Regions from separate parts of the Homo sapiens genome. Here region 2 is linked to region 1. The links are contacts of gene promoters, found by promoter capture Hi-C in blood cells and fetal thymus (Javierre and others, 2016). All regions are on one chromosome and are shown on one strand. The core of a region is centred on a gene start or on the middle of the fragment in contact, and the rest is flanking DNA. Distances in the headings are between cores, read along the strand shown.

Region 1 (3,040 bases), core at 118-2,617:
GCCACGGTCAGGAGGGGTTCAACAGAGGAGTCTAGGCTCATAGCAGTAGGATCGGGTCCTTCGGGGTGAATTAAAGCTCAGGGGGTGGAGTTGTTGCTGGGAGCAAGGATCGGGTCACTTGTCTGCGCAGACTGATGCTCAAAGAGTCGGTCCTGCGCCGAGTCACTCCTATCCTCTCCCAGCCTTGCCCACAGTCACACCAAGCCACAAGCCCATGCACACCAAAACACCGTTTTATAGTCCTGTGAGGTGAGTTCCTTGGGGATGGGAGAGGGGGATCTCAGGACTGAAGACCCAGGAAGCAGGCACAGATTCCCAGCAATGGATCACGCCCCAGGAAGCACAATCTCCTGCACCCTCGGCTTCCCCTGTCCCCATATCATCATTACACTGTTGTCACTCCACCAGATATTCAGAGGCACAAACTGTCAGAGTCTCACAGGTACAACCACACACCCAGGCACACTGCCACACACAAATTTACCACGATACAAGGAGTTGCAGGGGCACAGCCATGGGGGACGGATAACACGGTACCGTCTCACAGGCAGCTTTGCAGTCACAAGCAAGAGGACACTGAGTCACACCTGAACATTAACAAACACTGTGCCCCCAAGCACGGACAGACACACACACGCATACTCAGATACCTGCGACACCAAGGATGAGGTACCCCAGGAACCAGCCCCAGGGATTTCCTGCTGTGGCCATCACGTCAGCACCTGGGGATGAGGACTGAGACTTAGCCGTGTCTGGGGATCTTCAGCCCAAGTCTCTCCATCCCTCTCTTTGTCCCTCCCTTTCTTCCCTCTGGGACGTTATTAGGTAGGCAAGAGCCTAGACCATCTACCCCCTCTCCCATCCATGGACCCAGAACCTAGAGAGACAGATTTAGAGACTGAGAGAGAAAAAGAGAGAGAGAGATGGGAAAAGAGAGAGAGAGAGAGAACTAGGTAGAAAGGAAAGTTTAGAGAAAGCATCTAGCCATCTGTGAATGGGGAGAGATGGTGTCTAGCCACCCACAAACAAGCATGGAGGGAAGACACACAGAGAATCAGAGCCGGAGAGACAGAGTGCTTGAGAGATATCCTCAGAGACAGTCTGAGAGTTAGACATGGAGATATAGATTCAGAGAGACAGAGAGACCCCTAACTAGAGACAGTGACTCCTAACTAGAGACAGTGAGAGATCTGTCTAGAGAGATGTGGAGACAGAAGGCACAGAGGCTGAGAATCCAGCGACATGGAGCTGTAGGGAGAGTTGGATCATGAACACTGCAGGCTTTTAGTGGGGGACCACCAGGCCTCTTACCCGGCCACCTCTGGGCTCCTGGATTCCACTGCTGGGCTGAGCTCCAGCCTGCTGCCTCCCGCAGGGGCCTCCTTGGGGCTTATAAGCATCCTCAGCCTGGGCTGGCCTGCCCCCAGGGGATGTGTTCCAGGGGTCAGGTGCTGCAAACTTCCAGCTCAACTCTCTCAGGCTGCCTCAACTCTGACCAGGCAGTGGTTGGGGGCCCAGAAGGGGCTGGCAGCAGGGTCTAGGGACCCAGGGAGGAGACCCCTGCCCAGATCCTAGACTCCACTCTCCTTTTTCTTTCTCTCTCTCTCTCTCATTCTTTCTCTTTTCATGTTCTTATTCTCTCTCATGAGATACCTCTCTCTTGCCTGTATCTCTCATTTTCTCTTTCTCTTCTTCTTTCTTTCTCTCATTCTCTCTCTCATTATTTTTCTCGTGTTTTCTTTCATTTCCTCTCATTCTCTCCTGTTCTCTCTCATGTTCTTTCTCTTTTTAAATTAAATCTCTCTCTCTCTCTCCCCTCCTCCTTCATCCCTCTCTTTCTGTGCTTCTCCAGCAAATTTCCCCAGGTTCGTATCCAGCCTACATCACGAACTATTTTTGGAACCTTGGGCAAGTGACTGCACCCCTGTGAGCCTGTTTTTCCAACTGTAAAACTGGAGTGACCATTATGCCCCATTTCCCAAGTGGATTCAAAGAGGTAATTCAGGGAAAGGCACACAGTGCCAGGCACATTGTAGGCTCTCGGTGAGCGGGAGAACTAAAAAGTCTTCGCTCAGTGAAAAGCAGCTGAGTGCCTACCACACTCCGAGCTCTGCGGCAGGTGCTGGGGCCACAGGAGGAACCAGCAAAGTCCTCGTCACTGGGGATCGCGTCCTACCCGGGGGCACAGACCATAAAGGAAAACTGCAGGGACCAGCATATAAGGTGGTGGTCGGGGAGACTCAGAGAAGGGGAACATTTAAGCTGAGATCCCAGGGAAGAGGAGGAGGAGGGTCGCCGCAGCAGGGGCGGTTGCGGGGTGCAGGGGAGAACTTGGCTCCAGCCAGAGGAGGGCAGGGCGGGTAGGAGGGCAGGGCGGGTAGGAGCGCAGACCGGGAACCGGGCGGGCCTGCAGGAGTTTACGTACCAGGATTAAGGAGCTTGGGTTTTACTTAAGTGCAATGGATTTTAAGCACGAGGATGGAGTGACATAATCTTATTTACTTTTTAAAAACTTCCAGCTTGGAGAGTGATGGTGGGGGCGGGGCGGGGGGCAGTGGCAACAGCCCAGGTGGGAGGTGACGGGGTCAAGGGAGAAGAGAGGTGAATGGACACGGGGTCCCCTCTGCATGTGGAGCCAAGTTACTGCCCGATGGATGGAAAGTGGGGGGCCAGGAGCAGAGGGGCCAAGGATGGCGTGGAGGCTTGGTCTGCTGGCTTGCGCTCTACGGATCTTGTGGAGACGCATAGGTGCGGGAAGGGGGGTGGGGGGTGAGAGGGTGCCGTAGACCGCGGAGGGTGCACGGAGGGGCAGGCCGAGGTCAGGACTGCCGAGAAACAGCGGGGACTCATCAGGGGAGAGGTGGTGTTTACAGCCACGAGGCCGGGTGAGATCATCCAAGGAGTGGGTGGGTGTAGACCGCGGAGCCGGCGCGGGTGAGGGATAGTGCCCGCAGGTGACCGCGACGAGGCAGGAATGTCTCTGTGTCTCTCTGTCTCTCCTGGGTCTCTAACACTCTTTCCTTCTCCTTCCTTACTTCTT
Region 2 (3,139 bases), core at 247-2,746, 660 kb before region 1:
CATTTCTGAAAGCTGCACAGCACAGAAAATAGGAGGACAGGATGTATTACCCCACTATGCTGCTGGTAACAGCATTACCTGAGGCACCTGGGGGCTCTGTACATAGGCACCCAGCAGGTGTGCCGTGCACACACATTTACTCATTTGTTTTACAAAACTGGAGTCAGACCCTGCAAACTGTTTTGAAACCTGCTTTTTTTTCCCCTGAATGCTTTCGGGATAACTTTTCAGGTTATTCACAAGAAACTCTACTGGGATCCCTTCCCTCCCTCCCTCCCTCCCTCCCTCCCTCCTTCCCTCCCTCCTTCCTTCCTTCTTTTAGATAGAACTGTACTGGGATTCCCTCGCTCCCTCCCTCCCTTCCTCCTGCCCTCCCTCCTTCCTTCTTTTAGATAGAACTCTACTGGGATTCCCCCCCTCCCTCCCTCCCTCCCTTCCTTTCTTCCTTCCTTCCTTCCTTCCCTCCTTCCTTCCTTCCTTCCATCTTTCCTCTTTTAAATGAAGTCTCGCCCAGACTGGAGTGCAGTGGCACCATCTCAGCTCACTGCAACCTCTACCTCCTGGGTTCAAGCGATTCTCCCTGCCTCAGCCTCCCAAGTATCTGGGATTACAGGCACGCACCACCATGTCGGGCTAATTTTTGTATTTTTAGTACAGACGGGGTTTCACCATGTTGGCCAGGTTGGTCTCAAACTCCTGACCTCAGGTGATCCGCCCACCTTGGCCTCCCGAAGGGCCTCCCTGGGATTACGGGCGTGAGCCACCGTGCCCCGCCTCCAGTGTAGCTTTTAGTGACTGCAGAACATTCTTTCAAATGGGCCAGGCACCTGTAATCCCAGCTACTCAGGAGCTGAGGCAGGAGAATCACTTGAACCAGGGAGGCGGAGGTTGTAGTGAGCTGAGATTGCATCACTGCACTCCAGTCTGGGTGATAAGAGCCAAACTCTGTCTCAAACAAAACAAAACAAAACAAACAAAAAAACCATCAGAACATTCTTTCAAATGAATGAAGCCCGACCCATCTAACCAATTCCCGCTTCTTGGGCACTGAGGTTGTTTCCTAGCTTTCTCCGATTATAAACAACACTGCGCTGAACATCCTTGTGGCACGGTCTTTGCTCACATGCAGGGTTATTTTGCCAGTGCTGGTTCCTGGAAAAAAAATAGTTGGGCAGAGAATGTACACACTTTTGGGACTCGTAATGCCTCTCCTGGGAAAGGCGGGGCCCGTCTTCTGCTCCCCCAACAGTGTGGGAAACGGTACCCTCTCCCTTGCTGGGCAGCAAGCACCTCTTCCCAGTGCTGATGGAATCTTGGTGCCTCTCGCCCTCAGCTGCACAGAAGCTCTGCCGCCTCTTGGGACTGGGGGTGACGGATTTCTCCCGAGCCTTGCTCACCCCTCGCATCAAAGTTGGCCGAGACTATGTGCAGAAAGCCCAGACTAAGGAACAGGTAGGCGGGGCTGGCGGTGGGCAGGCACAGAAAGAGCCGCGCACCCCGGCCCTGGGTCTTTAAACAGTGTATGCTGTTTTTCCCACCACTCAACAGACTTTTGCTGAGTGCCCGCTCCGTTACCGATCCTGGTCTAGGTGCCAGGCGTAAAAGCAGTCATCGAAACAAATAACCAGGCCCTCAGGGACCTCAAGTTATAGTAAGGAAATGGATAATAAAAGTTCAACAGGATGTGTCTGGGAGTGGTGGCTCACACCTGTAATCCCAGCACTTTGGGAGGCCAAGGTGGGAGGATTGCTTGAGCCCGGGAGTTTGAGGCTGCAGCGAGCTGTAATTGCGCCACTGCACTCCAGCCTGGGTGACAGACTGAGACTCTGTCTCTAAAAAAATTAAAAAATTTAATAATAATTTAAAAAAACAGGATGTAAATGCAACATGGTATCCTAGAAAAACAAAAAACAAAAACCCAGGATGCTTTTAGATGGTGAGAGCACCTGTGAAGGGGAGGTTTTGTTGGTCAGGAAAGTCCTCTCTAAGGAAGCTCTAAGGATGAAACATTCGAGATGAGACCTAGATGGTTCGAGGCAGACGGAACCGCAAGTGTAAAGGCCCTGGGGGTGGAGCAGGCTTGGGGAGTTGGGAACATTAAGCAGGTCAGTGAGGCCGGGTGTGGGGGCTCATGCCTGTAATCCCAGCTCTTTGGGAGGCTGAGGCGGACAGATTGAGCTCAGGAGTTCAAGATCAGCCTGGGCAACATGGTGAATCTCCGTCTCTACTAAAATACAAAAATTAGCTGGGTATGTGGCACACGCCTGTAGTCCCAGCTACTTGGGAGGCTGAGACACGAGGATCACTTGAACCTAGGAGGCAGAGGTTGCAGTGAGCTGAGAGCACGCCACTGCACTTCAGCCTGGGTGACAGAGCGAGACTCTGTCTCAAAAAAAAAAAAAAAAAGAAAAGAAAAAAAGAAAATTGAAGGAGGTCAGGTCAGTGAGGCTGAAGAGCAAGGGAGAGAGGGTGGGTGAATCCACAGTCAGAAATGTCAGCAAGGGGCAGATCATGCAGGGTCTTAGGGGCCACAGTAAGGAGGTGAGTTTTATTCAAACTACATAGGAGGCCATTGAGGTTTTAAGCCAGGGAGTGACTTGATTCAGTTTGTCTTTCATAGAAAGATCCCCTTGGCTGCTGCATGGAGAATTGGGTTCAGGGATGCAGGTAGAGGCGGGGAGACCTAAGGAGGCTGCATCCAGAGTCTTGGCAATCGTGGGAGCTCACACCATGAGCAGGGAGGGTGGAGTGGAGCGACCACAGGCCAGGGAGGGTTTCAGAATCCAGCTTTTGGGCAGAGGCCTCTGCTGGCCCCAGGCTGGGCAGTGAGGTACCTGGATGAAGACCCCGTGGGGGAGATGAGGAGTCTGGGAGCCACACTGACCCGGGTTCAATCTCAGCTGGGGTACTGTTGTTAGTTCCCATTTTACAGAGGAGAAAACTGAGGCACAGAGAGGTTTATTCACATGCCTGAAATCACACAGCCCCTAAGTGGCAGAGCTGGGATTCAAACCCAAGTTGTCCGGCTCCAGAGTCCACGCTCTTAACCGCTGTGCGGTAGAAACTGCTTTGAGGGGGTGAGGGAAGGATTCAAGGGCTAACACATCCGAGCCCGTCATGTAGTACCTGGTGCGCAGTA

Evidence for each region. The method cuts DNA at HindIII sites, captures the fragments that hold promoters and counts their contacts. A CHiCAGO score of 5 or more calls a contact.
Region 2: a fragment that was not itself captured here is called in contact with the fragment with the promoter of KLK4 in region 1 in 1 of 17 cell types (total B cells); the score reaches 5.4 in total B cells.

What each region holds. Positions count from the first base shown.
Region 1 is chr19:50,910,028-50,913,067 of GRCh38, forward strand. It overlaps KLK4 (kallikrein related peptidase 4), which reads right to left and starts at 1,368. Exons shown (of 6, transcript NM_004917.5): 1 at 1,312-1,368; 2 at 651-722. The coding sequence starts at 711. The HindIII fragment of the contact is 22,926 bases long and covers 1-3,040 here.
Region 2 is chr19:50,245,671-50,248,809 of GRCh38, forward strand. MYH14 (myosin heavy chain 14) reads left to right here. Exons shown (of 43, transcript NM_001145809.2): 12 at 1,334-1,452. Among named protein-coding and RNA genes, the nearest start is that of MYH14, 44 kb to the left of the region's middle. The HindIII fragment of the contact is 6,027 bases long and covers 1-3,139 here.